Regions from separate parts of the Homo sapiens genome. Here all the other regions are linked to region 2. Evidence: promoter capture Hi-C in 16 types of primary human blood cells and fetal thymus (Javierre and others, 2016). All regions are on one chromosome and are shown on one strand. The core of a region is centred on a gene start or on the middle of the fragment in contact, and the rest is flanking DNA. Distances in the headings are between cores, read along the strand shown. Region 1 overlaps WWC2 (WW and C2 domain containing 2). Region 2 holds the start of WWC2-AS2 (WWC2 antisense RNA 2). Region 3 overlaps WWC2 (WW and C2 domain containing 2).

The links. Contacts are between HindIII fragments. The CHiCAGO score rates a contact against its expected background, and 5 or more counts as called.
Region 1: a fragment that was not itself captured here is called in contact with the fragment with the promoter of WWC2-AS2 in region 2 in 3 of 17 cell types (endothelial precursors, erythroblasts and megakaryocytes); the score reaches 8.4 in endothelial precursors.
Region 3: a contact is called between a fragment that was not itself captured here and the fragment with the promoter of WWC2-AS2 in region 2, in 1 of 17 cell types (endothelial precursors). The highest score is 5.3, in endothelial precursors.

The regions. Positions count from the first base shown.
Region 1 is chr4:183,203,532-183,207,691 of GRCh38, forward strand. The region is part of intron 2 of WWC2 (WW and C2 domain containing 2); the gene reads left to right. Among named protein-coding and RNA genes, the nearest start is that of WWC2-AS1, 35 kb to the right of the region's middle. The HindIII fragment of the contact is 637 bases long and covers 2,151-2,787 here.
Region 2 is chr4:183,096,479-183,100,849 of GRCh38, forward strand. It overlaps WWC2-AS2 (WWC2 antisense RNA 2), which reads right to left and starts at 2,721. Exons shown (of 1, transcript NR_024008.1): 1 at 543-2,721. WWC2 (WW and C2 domain containing 2) reads left to right here and starts at 2,779. Exons shown (of 23, transcript NM_024949.6): 1 at 2,779-3,144. The coding sequence starts at 3,014. RefSeq lists enhancers at 1-192, 1,538-1,832 and a silencer at 1,538-1,832. The HindIII fragment of the contact is 3,980 bases long and covers 1,627-4,371 here.
Region 3 is chr4:183,186,535-183,190,540 of GRCh38, forward strand. All of the region lies in intron 1 of WWC2 (WW and C2 domain containing 2), which reads left to right. Among named protein-coding and RNA genes, the nearest start is that of WWC2-AS1, 52 kb to the right of the region's middle. The HindIII fragment of the contact is 3,983 bases long and covers 1-3,717 here.

The DNA of each region.
Region 1 (4,160 bases), core at 1,219-3,718, 110 kb after region 2:
ACTAATGTACACTCTCTACACCCCTAAGAAAGGGGTTGTGGAACTCTGAGTGGGCTGTGGAAGTATTTTCAGGTATGATATGACATCAAGGGCTTAAAATCTAAGAGTACTGTTACTAATGGTACACAAAAATGATTTTATTGAGTCAGTTAGGCTGTGCCTTAATCTAATTTTGTTTTTACAATAACCAGAGCTGCGTATTTATTCAGTTCTCTAGTAGAATCTTAGAAAACAATTGCTAGAACTTGCCGTTACATTTCTCTATTAATGACAGGTTTATTTTCCTTTTTTGTTTTCAAGAGCGATTCTTCCTCTCATTTCTCCCCTGCCTTGCCCATACACACAGTGTTACTAAGAGCCGCCATCACAGGAGGGTATGAGTAGTACAGTCCAAGACCAAACTTCTTCAGTTTCCATTTGCATAGATTATACAAGGGTATGTTGGGTTGAGTTCTCTCAGAAGCAAACCCTAAGCCAAGAATTTAAGTGAAAGTGGTTTATGAAGGAAATCCCAGGATAAACCAGTAAGGAAATGAGGAAAGAAAGAAAGTGGAGGGAAAAAAACAGCTGAAGGTTTTATTTCTGCAAAGTCTCTGACTCCACATGATTGTGGTGGCTCTAAAGTACAATTTCTACCTCAGAGTTTGCCCTACCTGGGAGTTCTTTCTGTCTTCTTCACTTGTCAGTCATTGGCTGCAGGTGAGTTAGCGAAGTGCTCTAGAGCAGTCAGACATCCATCAACAACAAACAGCAGGCTGTGGCAGAAAGACCCGAGAATACCAGGATAGGACACCAACAGTGTCTGCTACAAAGGCTGCATCAGAAAATATTCGTCCATATTTCAGCCTCTTTTTACAATCGAGAGACATGAGAGTAAGAGAGGTAAAATACTTAGAGTCTCACATCTGGCTAGGTGGATATGGAACCCACACGGCCTTACTCCCTAACCAGTGCTCTTTTCAACAGCTGGTAGTGGCAAAGGATTTTATTGCTGTTCCATTATACCTCATTTCTCTTTATCAGTCATCATCAGTCATTCATTTGAACCTTGTAAAGCATATTTTAATAATAAACTGTAAATCAGCTTTATTATTATATACAAATACATAAATTGCATCTATTTTCACTATACAATTCATGAGTTTTGACAGGTGTATACCATGTAACTATCACAATAATCAAGATAGGGAACATTTCCATCCCCTCAAAAAGAGCTTTCTTCTTGCTCTGTTGTAACAAGTACTTCTCAGTACTGCTGGGCCCAGGCAATCACTTTCTGTCATTGGATTGGCTTTACTTTTGCCCGAATTTCATATAAATGGAATCATACAGCATGTGGTCTTTTGTGTCTGGCATCTTTTCACTCAACATGTGTTTGAGAGTCTTATATATTGCTGTTGAGTATTTTGTTTCATTTTATTGCTGAGTAGTATTTTATTGTATGGATATACCACAGTTTGCTTAGCCATTACCTGTAATAGTTTTGTCTATTATGAATAAAGCTGCTAATGAGCATTTGTTTAGAGGTCTTTTTGTAGATACATATTTTCATATCTCTTGGGTAAATAACAAGTTGTAGGATTGCTAGGTTGTATGGTAATTGCTAAGTTGTTCTCCAAAGTGATTGGACCATTTTAGATTCCCGGTAGCAATGAATGAGAATTCCAATTGCACCACATCCTCTTCAACACTTGGCATTGCCAGTTTTTAAATTCTAGCCATTTTACATAGTGAGCAATGGTATCCCATTATAGTTTTGACTTGTATTTCGCTGATAATTAGTGATGTTGAGTCTCCTTTCATCTGCTTACTGGCTATTTGCACAATAGTCAGTAGATGTGCAGGTTTATTTTTGGACTCTATTCTGTTGCAACATAGCTGTTTTATCTAGATTATGCTTATTCCATCCTTTCTACATTTCGAGATCTGTTTCTATTGACTGATTTTTCTCCAGATTATGGGCCATATTTTTGTGCTTTTTATGTTGGTAACATTATAGTGGATGCTAGACATTATAAAGTTGGTTTTGTTGTTGTTGTTTTCATTGAGTGCTAGGTTTTGTGCCTTTTAGGGAGTTTTATATTTTTTTTCTTCTGACCGGCAGTTAAGTTACTTGCTGACCAGCTTGGTCTTTTAGAAGCTTGTTTCAAAGCTTTGTTAGGTTAGGTTCAGAGTAGCCTTTACCCTATGTCTTATTTAGCTCTGTTGTTAAGGTGTAACTTTGCTGTGGTCTCCACTGGATTCCCTAGATGTTCACTGTGGCCTTTCTCCTCTGGCTGGTCATAATTTGAAACTGTCACAGCCCTGTGTGAGCTCGGGGAATTTATCTGCCTATAGCGTCCCAGTTGTCCTTTGCCTGGCCTTGTGCATTTCCCGTTGTCATCTCAGCATTCACTCACAGACTTCTTGTGACCCCTGTGCAAATTTCTGGAACTTCTCCAGTCTCTGGAGCTTCTACTGTGCTTTGCTTTACAAATTCCACCTGTCATGGCTTCCGTGAAATCTGCTTCCCTCTCCCTGCAATTCAGCAGTGCCTCCTTTCTCTGCTTGAGTTACCCCTCTTTGCACTGCTGTCCAAAAAGTGCTTTCAGACAGAAATGTAGGGTAATCGTGGGGTTCATTTCCCTTCTCTCAGAGATCACAATCCTGTACTACCTGTTGTCCAACATCTGAAAACCATTGTTCATATATTTTATCTTCTAGTTACAGTGGCCCTGTTATTCCACCATGGCCTTCTTTGTGTTTTGCTTTGTTTTTTAAAAATCTCTATTAACCTTTTGTGTATCAAGCTTCATGTGTTTTCTGTATTAAAGCCATACTTCTTTTTGTCCCAAATTATCCCCTGTTTGTGTTTGCTGTTGTTGGGAGTGGGGTCCACTCGGATACAATATCCTGCTAGAGACGAGATCTTAAGTCACAATACCATAGTTTTTATGCCTTTGAACTATTCCACTTTTATTTTAAAACATGTATTACTGAATACTACACACAGAAAAGTGCATAGACTGAAATAACATAGTTTAACAAATATTTTAGAAGTGAACTGTGTAATTTCGATGGGTGAAAGAAATAGAACATCAGCATCCAGGAAACCTCTTTTATTTACTCTGTCCCATTCTCAACCCCTTCCTCTACTGGCAAATGGCCACTCTCCTTTCTTTCACAGCAGAGGGGTCCAGTACATGTCTGCAGACACAGGGGGATAGCTCTTAACCAGCCTGCACTAACCATCACCAAAACTGTCCGTTCTCTTGTATACACCATGGTATCCCAATGCTGGACAGCAGTACACTCCAACTCCTTGGCCCAACATGTGGTCAAAAAATATGTTAATTTTAAAATGTGAGAACATAAAATGTTTAGGGTAATCTGATTCTTTCATTTTTGTTTTTCTTCATGTTTTGTGGCCCCTACTGTAGCTTCACCACACAGTAAAGAATGTGTTTGGAGTTTATAAACTGAGCATAAGCTGCCATGGAAGACAGAGGATAAAGGGCTGACTTGCAGATGAGGTGGCTGGGGCACCTTCTGGAGGAGGCAGCATGTGAATGCTGTTGCAGAACACTGGTTCTTGGGCTCGGCTGCTCAATGGAATCACCTGAGCAGCTTTGAAATCTACCGTGCCTGGGTTGCATCCACAGAAACTCTAGTTGGTCTGGGTTTTTTTTTTTTAAAAGGGTCTCTGGTTGATTGTAGTTTGTGGAAGTGCAGAAGCAAGAACCAGGGCCTTAGGCTAGAGCATTCTGTATAAACAGGACCAGGGTTCTGTTTGTTTGTTTATTTTTAAATTTCAGATCCACTGCGGACTCACTGATATTTTTGTAAAATACAAGAAAAAGTGAATTACTGGAAAAGTGAAAATGTATACACACAAAGAAATGCATAGTATTTATCAACAGATAAACAATAACTGACTAAAATCGCTATAATGATTACAAAATGTTTTCTATTTCTGTCATTACTGTTGCGGACATAAAACTGAGTTCATGGACTGGTGTTGGTCTGCAGAGTAGACCAACTTTGATTAGTGCTGATGCAGAGGGCAGTGTGTCTACAGTCCTGTATTAGGTGAATGAAGGTGGGTTGGGTCCAGCTTATGCAGGGCATTGAGTGCTGGAATGAATAGCTTGGCTTTTATTCTGTAGGCACTGGGGAGCCAC
Region 2 (4,371 bases), core at 1,471-3,970:
CATCATCTTTCTTTGCCAAGGATCATCTGGAGCTCAAATCAAATCTAAATGTGTCCACCTCTAAAATGGGGATAATCTTCATGTTTCTTTTCCTTTTACAGATATAAATGCAATTTCATTGTCTTGACCGTTAGGAATTCTCTGAAGGTCTGTTACTACGTAAATTGTGTGAACTCCGAACAGCAGAGTTCAAACTTGATCAGAACAAAAAAGGCTAGAGAGTGGCAACTCTCCTTTCCGTCATTTTAATGGCTTTTGTATGACCAAATGTTTCCTTGCCAGTCAGTGGGGAAGAAGCAGCGAGCTTGTCTCTTAATTGCTTTAGAGTTCTGTTTGTCTATTTAGCGTTTCTTTTTGAAGTCTGAAGATTTATGGAACAATAAACGTCATTTAATGCTGCGTGCTATTTTGGATTCCTCACTGGTTTTAGAATTTGGGTAAAACTACTTAGCTGAAAGTTTAACAAATTTGAAATTACAAGTATTGTAGAATAGTTCATCTCAGTGACATAAAATTACGGCAGCAGCAAAGTGTGTTACTTTGGTTTTTTTTTTTTAATAGTAAGATGTAGACATTTTAGTATAACAAATGTTTTCAAGTTGTTTGGGAAATAAATAAGCTAGGAAGCAAGGTTTAAATAAGAATGGTTTGGTTTGGTGCTGAATGATGTTGTTAGTACACCGCAATTCAAGTGTTGGCTATGCATTTGGGCCAATTTAGGGAAGTCCAAAACAACGCACATTCGCTCAGTAGTGTGAGAGATTAATTGTAGGCAGGTCCCATCTTTTTTACAGTATTCAAACGTTCAACCTTAAGACCCCACCAGGGCGTCTCATTCCACCGGGAACTAGAGAAGCTTGACTTGTGTGATCACCTCCTGATGAATGGACTGGGGCGGAACACAGATCCGGAGGTGGGGGCTTCTCTTCACCAAGCGCAAAGCCTACCTTCCAGAAGGCTGGCTGCACAAGCGGCCGCCCTAAATGCGGTCAAAGCGGGCAAATTCGCCGTGGGTGCCTTCCTTCCCTACCTCCGGCCCACTCTGGTTGCTCCTTCCCAGGTGCTCCAAGCTCTCCAGAGTTTCTGGTGGTTTAAAGTTTCCGCTTCACGCCCAGACTGCTCTAAGGGCAAACACGACCCCTTTCCTCTTCTAGGACCCCTTCCGTGAAGTCTGTTCCAACCCTGAGCCTCTCCACCTTCGAGATTGGCCGCAGATGCCCCGACGGGATGGCCTGGGGAGCCGAAAGCTGTCCCCAGCCCCGGACAGCTACTGCCCACGCCGCGCAGGCCAGCCTCACACAGTAGCGAATCTCCTTCACGCGACTTCCTCGCAGGCCTGTGAACCCGCAGGGGAGGCGGAGGTCGGTTCAAACCCTGCGAGAGCCCCTGCCCAGCGCGGAGTCCTGCACACGGTGGAAAGTCCTTACGCATTAGCGGGCAGGATTAAACGACTTCACACCACGAGGTGCAAGACTGGGCTTCGGGGCCTTCCTCGGTGTTGCTATTTTAAAAGAAGCTGCTCAGTAACCCAGAAGAAGATGACGGGGGACGGTGGTGTAGACCCGGCTGGAGAGGAGTCCAGGGCCTGGGAGGCGCCCCCTCTGACTGAGGGGCTGGGGACCCTGAAGCTTGGCGTCCAGGCCCCGCCAGCGCTGCACCCGGCATTGTCCCGCCTGGGGCAGGCGTCCGGTCCCTCGGCAGTGCGGGCCAGCACGTACGTAGTAGCTGCTGAATAAATAAATGCCTATGCAACAGGGAACGTCCCGGCCCACCCCGGCCGGGCCAGGGCCTAGGAAGGGCGGGCGTCCGGCGCCGCCGTGGGTCCCTCCGGCGTGGCCGCCCACACCTCCTGGCCACGGCGGGGCTGCGGTGGGGGGACATCCTGGGGCGGGCGGCTGGACGGAAGGGACTAGAGTCGGGGCGCGTCCACGGCCAACCGCCCCGAACCAAGCAGGGGAGGCCAGGGACCAGGAGCTTCCGGGGCCCCGCGGCTGGAGCGCCCGGACGCGAAGGGGCGGCGGGTGACGGGGCGCGGTGCGGGCGGCTACAGGGCCGGACGGGAGTTCCTCCGCTTTCCGCCGCGCGGCTCGCGGTCTCAGCCGAGGTCATCGAGGGCCAGGAGCCCTGGCGGAGGCCCCGCCGTCCCGGACCCACCGACGCACTCCCAGGGCTTGGCGCTTTCCCACCACCCCGGACCGCCCTTGGGGTGCCGGAGGGGCTCGGGGCGCGGCGTGGGGAGCCTTTGTGCCCTCTCCGCTTGTTGAGGTTTTTTCTCCGGAGGAGAGCTCCCCGCCCGCCACCCCTTTCCTCTCGAAAGTTTTGTGGTTTCCCTAGAAGACGAAAGAGGTTGAGAAGGTTGCGGAGACTTTTGCAATCTTCCCCGTCCAGAAACTCTAAAACCTCTCGGCGTTTGGCCCAGGGGAGCTATCTGGGGTCAAGGGGAGGGAGCTGGCCGCACATTCCTTCGCCCGCCTTCCTCCCACCTGGAGCCGCGGCCCCGCGGGGCAGTGCGTCCGAGCTGGTGCGGCGACGCCGGCAGCGGCGGGGTTAAGCTCAGGAATGCGGCGCGAGGAATGCGCATGCAGATGAGGCGGGCGGGCGCATGCTAATCGCATGCAAATGAGGGGCCCGCCGCTGCCGCGGCAGCGCCGCAGCTTCCCGGATCCGAGCCCAGACGGCGGCGGCTCCGGCAGCCTGGGCGCCGCGACCCTCGGCGGCCAGAGGGGGACGGGGCGGAGGAGGAGGAAGAGGCGGAGGCAGCGGCGGCGAGGGGGAGGAGGGTTCGCTCGCCGGCTCCGACGCAGACATGGTGGACTGATCCGCAGCGGGGCCGCGAACAGCGTTTCCTGAGGCACCTCCCGCGCGTGGTTCCGCCGCGCCCCGCGCCCTGCGCCCCTCAGCCCCTCGCCGGCGCCCGCGTCGCGGGTTGGCAGCCTAGCCCGGCAGCCGCGTTCCCGCCGCGTCCCGCGCCCGGTACCTATGGAGGCGCCGCTCGCCGGCGAGGCCGCCGACCATGCCTAGGAGGGCCGGGAGCGGTCAGCTGCCGCTGCCCCGGGGCTGGGAGGAGGCCAGGGACTACGACGGCAAGGTCTTCTACATTGACCACAACACCAGGAGGACCAGCTGGATCGACCCCCGGGACAGGTGGGCGCCGGCCGCGGGGGCGCGGGCCCGTTCGGACACGGCGGCTGTTGTCCCGGAGACCCGGCCGCGCGGGGGGCTGGGGCGGCGCCGGCCCGCGGTGCCCCGAGGGGTCCCGGGAGGGATGTGGGGCTGGCTGCTCCGGCGGGGCCGAGGAGCCGCCCGTACCCGGGCTCCTCCGCCCACCGGCTTCCCGACGCCCCTCCGGGGACCCGGCCCCGAGGCAAGGCTGGAGTCGCTGCCCCGGGCCGACGCCGCGCGCCAGGCTAACGGACCCGAGGGGCCACCTGAGCCCTGTTAGGAACTTCCCTAGGCTTCGAGGTGCCCACGTGGAGGCTGCAGGACACCTTCGGCCTCTGGGCGGCGGGGGTGGGCTAGGGCCTCACTGCCAGTTGGGGAACGAGCCCTCCGGGCCACCTGTGGCATCCCTCAGGCCGTCCTTGGCGCGGGAGCCTGGGCTGCGAGCTCTTGGCGGGGGCGCCCAGACTGGCCGGAGGTCCCGAGCTGGGAAGGGGCTCCCGCCCCCCGCCGGGCCCTGCTAGTGGGTGTGACTGACTTTGCCCCTCAGAGTTTAAAAACGCGCGTTTGGGGGTTTCGCTGTCTGTCGTTAGTCTTCACCTGAAAACTTGAACCGACTCCCAGATCGGGAACAGGCATATTGTGTTTGGAAGGGAGATGTAGTGAAATTAACGTTGGGTATTGAGGCACTCTGATTTGAGCTTAGCCTGGTTTCTTTGTTTTTTGTTTTTTAAATTGGTTCAGGAACTGAAGGTTCACAAATGTTTCTGTGTCCCATATTTTTTTTACCCTTAAAATTTCTTAGAATTATTGTAAGAATAATAGGAGGTATTCCTAATTATAAATTTGTAAATTATCCATTAAGGAGATATTCCTAATTGTAAATTTAAATAACGTGCCACCAGGGATAACTTCGACATTTGGACTTTTGTCATTTCTGAAAATTATAACTTTATTGAATGTGGCCCTTTGGGCTTTATATACTTTTTAGGTGCTTCTCCTATTTAACATTTTCCCTTTTCTCAATTTGAAGCTGAAATACCTAACTACTTTATAATCTCAGTTACTTTTGCCCTAAAAATGTTGTTTTTGAAAGCTACTAAAAGGCAATTACAAGAAAGTTATAAATAACATTATAAATTTATGGAACAATCCTTGTTCAATTATCCGTGAAGCTACGGGCCTAGGTTTCCCTCCTGAAATGAGAAAAGG
Region 3 (4,006 bases), core at 476-2,975, 89 kb after region 2:
TTTTTTAGGGTAGGGGGCATTGAATATAGACTGAAGGAGAAAAAATTAACCATATGAGAAGAGATAAATATCAGATAATGAGAGATGGAATGAGACTGCAGAGTAGAGAGGAGCGGCTGGGGTAAGGGCAGGAGACTGGCAGGCTAGCCTGGAGGAGGGGATGCGAGACATGTAGAGAGGAGTGGGGTGTGTGGGTCTCAGGGAGCAGACCTGGGAGACAACACAGTTGTGTTCAGATATTTGAAAGTCTGTCATGTGGAGGAGGTATCAAACTAATTCTCGTTGGTACCAGGTGACAAAACTCATGCCAGCTGTAGGAGGACCAGACCTAGGACCAACAGAGGGGAGAATTGTCTGAGGACCCAAGCAGGTGCAGACATAACATGAACTAATCTGAAGAAGTGATCTTGGTTAGGCTACCTCGTTATGTTTCCTGCCAGCTCTGTAGCACTGGGTGAATCATTTAAATCTTGGAGCAGCAGTCTCCTTCCTAACCCATTGCACCAGGCTAGGGGCTTTCCTGGCCAAGTCCTAGGGTGACAAATTAGTTATCTGCTTGGCTGTCCTCACCTTGGCTCCCCAGGGCAAGCACCAAATCCTTTCCTTGTTATATCCCCCCACTGCACACAGACAGGATCTAAAACACAGGATTTTGTGACACGTTTTACGTTTCACATAAAACACAAAATTCTGGATGTGTCACATACAGAATTAAATCTGTAAAAAACGGGAATAGGGGCTGGGCGCAGTGGCTCACGTCTGTAATCTCAGCACTTTGGGAGGCCGAGGCGGGTGGATTACCTGAGGTCAGGAGTTTGAGACCCGCCTGGCCAACATGGTGAAACCCTGTCTCTACTAAAAATACAAAAATTAGCTGGGCATGGTGGCACGCACCTGTAGTCCCAGCTACACAGGAGGCTGAGCAGGAGAATCGCTTGAACCTGGGAGGCGGAGGTTGCAATGAGCCGAGATTGTGTCACTGCACTCTAGCCTGGGCGACAGAACGAGACTCCGTCTCAAAATAATAATAATAATAATAATAATAATAATAATAGGCATGGTGCGGTGGCTCACACCTGTAATCCCAGCACTTTGGGAGGCCAAGGTGGGTAGATCACCTGAGGTCAGGAGTTCGAGACCAGCCTGACCAACACGGAGAAACCCCATCTCTACTAAAAATACAAAAAAATTAGCTGGGCGTGGTAGCGCATACCTGTAATCCTAGCTACTTGGGAGGCTGAGGCAGGAGAATCACTTGAACCTGGGAGGCAGAGGTTGCAGTGAGCCAAGATCGTGCCATTGCACTCCAGCCTGGGCAACAAGAGTGAAACTCCGTCTCAATAAATAAATACATAAAAATAAAAAAAAAAGAGACCAGAAATACCCATTTTGAAGGGTTGTTATTAGGGCTAAATGAGATAACATATGAAACAACCTTGCATAATTCTTGGAACATAATAGACAACTAATAAAATTAGTTTCTTTCCTTTCTGAAAAAATTAGTATGTCACAAAATGATTTTCAAAATATTGAGTAACTGTTCTAGTAAACAGTAATATAAGTTGCCAGACACCCAAAAGGGCTCATGGCAGGAAGAACGGGGGAGTGAGGCTAGATTGGAGCCTCCAGATGTTGCCAAGTCTATTTTTTTGTCTTTAGGTAAAAATGATCTTAGGAAGAGATGATTCTCCCCATTGTGACGTGTTCTTTTGTTTTGTTTTTGAGACAGAGTCTCGCTGTGTCGCCCAGGCTGGAGTGCAGTGGCACAATCTTGGCTCACTACAACCTCCACCTCCCAGGTTCAAGAGTTTTCCTGCCTCAGCCTCCCGAGTAGCTGGGATTACAGATGCCCACCACCACACCTGGCTAATTTTTGTAATTTTAGTAGCGATGGATTTTCACCATGTTGACCAAGCTGGTCTTGAACTCCTGACCTTAAGTGATCTGCCTGTCTCAGCATCCCAAAATGCTGGGATTACAGGTATTAGCCACTGCACGTGGCCCATTGTGACCTATTCTGATATCTAATGTTTGTTTTCTAGAAATTCTATCTAATATGATCTCTCTCTCTCTATCTAATATGATCTCTCTCTCTCTCTTGCTCCTTTCTTTTTTTTTTTTTTTTTTTGAGACGAAGTCTCGCTCTTGTCCCCAGGCTGGAGTGCAATGGCCCGATCTTCACTCACTGCAACCTCCACCTCCCGGGTTCAAGCGATTCTCCTGCCTAAGCCTCCTGAGTAGCTGGGATTATAGGCATGTGCCACCACGCCTGGCTAATTTTTGTATTTTTAGTAGAGACGGGGGTTTCACCAAGTTGGCCAGGCTGGTCTCGAACTCCTGACCTCAGGTGATCCGTCCACCTTGGCCTCCCAAAGTGCTGAGATTACAGGCATGAACCACCGTGCCTGCCCCTCTAATATGACTTCCTTCCAATCATTTAAGCTAATTTCCTCACACACAGGGAAGGAATCTCATTATTATCTTCCAAAGTGGTTTGTATAATTTTTCTTGAAAGCCATTTTTTTTCTTGTTGCCTCCATCCACTGTTTTCTACTATTTTCCTTTGTTTGTTTCTTTGTGTTGCTAGTTTCCCTATCTAGTGATAGATAGAAGTTGTTGGCCAGGCGCAGTGGCTCATGCCTGTAATCCTAGCACTTTGGGAGGCTGAGGGAGGTGGATTGCCTGAGGTCAGGAGTTTGAGACCAGTCAGGCCAACATGGTGAAACCCCGTCTCTACTAAAAATACAAAAAAATTAGCCAGGCGTGGTGGCGGGCGCCTGCAATCCCAGCTACTCGAGAGGCTGAGGCAGGGGAATTGCTTGAACCAGGGAGGTGGAGGTTGCAGTGAGCCGAGATCGCGCCACTGCACTGTGGCCTGGGTGATAGAGCGAGACTCAGTCTCAAAAAAAAAAAAAAAAGTTATTTCGAGGGAACTAATTGACATCATTATAAATGAAGATTCTTTTAGGACTGTGGAAAGATTTCTAGTGCTTTATCCTTGCTTTAAAATTCAAGTTGTGAAACACATCTTTACTTCCTCCCTGTTCTCTTAGAGCAATTCAGTGATGTTTCTGTGAGCAGATTCTGTAGTAATCATAAGCAGTTGACAGGATTCGCTCTGCTTTGTGTTAGCTAAACAATGAGAACAGCAGATGCTACAAAGTAAAAATAACTGTTAAGACTTTTAATGTGTGTGCTAAACTGTACATTTGGGAGGCTCTGAATTGTGGCAAGAGTTTTAGTAACCTGAAATGTTTTTTTTAAGTGCTTATTCATTTAGTGCAGTTAGTACAAACTCAGGTTTTTTTGGAGTTGTGCTTGTACTCACCATCATGTAATTGTGAAGTGAACAAATACATCACTGTGTGGCATCTCATGTCGTAGGACATGTATTTGAGTTGACAATAAATATTAAATGACTGTGAAAGAATGATATAATGCCAGCAAGGAGAAGAAATACCACACAGAGTTAAATTTTGCATATAAACGTTGGCAAAGTGCTGCAGTAAATTACCGTTTTCTTCATAATATGAAATTCCTTTGCATGGTGCAAAGGAAGACCTTTTTAAGCAAAGAGTAATCTCTGGAATTCAGCATTAAGACTCTAGTTAATTTCAGGATTTTGTTGTTATTGTTGTTGTTGCTTGTTGTTGCTCCTTTGCAGGGAACCAACCAAAAACAAACTCCATCCATTTTTACTGACTTAACATCAAAGAAAGCTTGAATGTGTAAGAAATTCCTTGTGCACAACAAGAGGAAGAAATTTAAAAGTTAATTAACATTTCCGTTCACTGTATTTGTTTTAATTTATATTGTTTGTAATTTTGGAATACATCTGTTAGTTCTTTTTGCTTTGTGTTACCTCTTAGTACGTCATAGTAATATTTTCTTTTTATCAGGATAGCACCATAATTGGGTACTTAATTTGTTTGGAACCTGAGAATGTTGTTCTATTTATATTTTATAATTTGCATAAGAATTCAGTCCTAAAACTTTAATATTTACA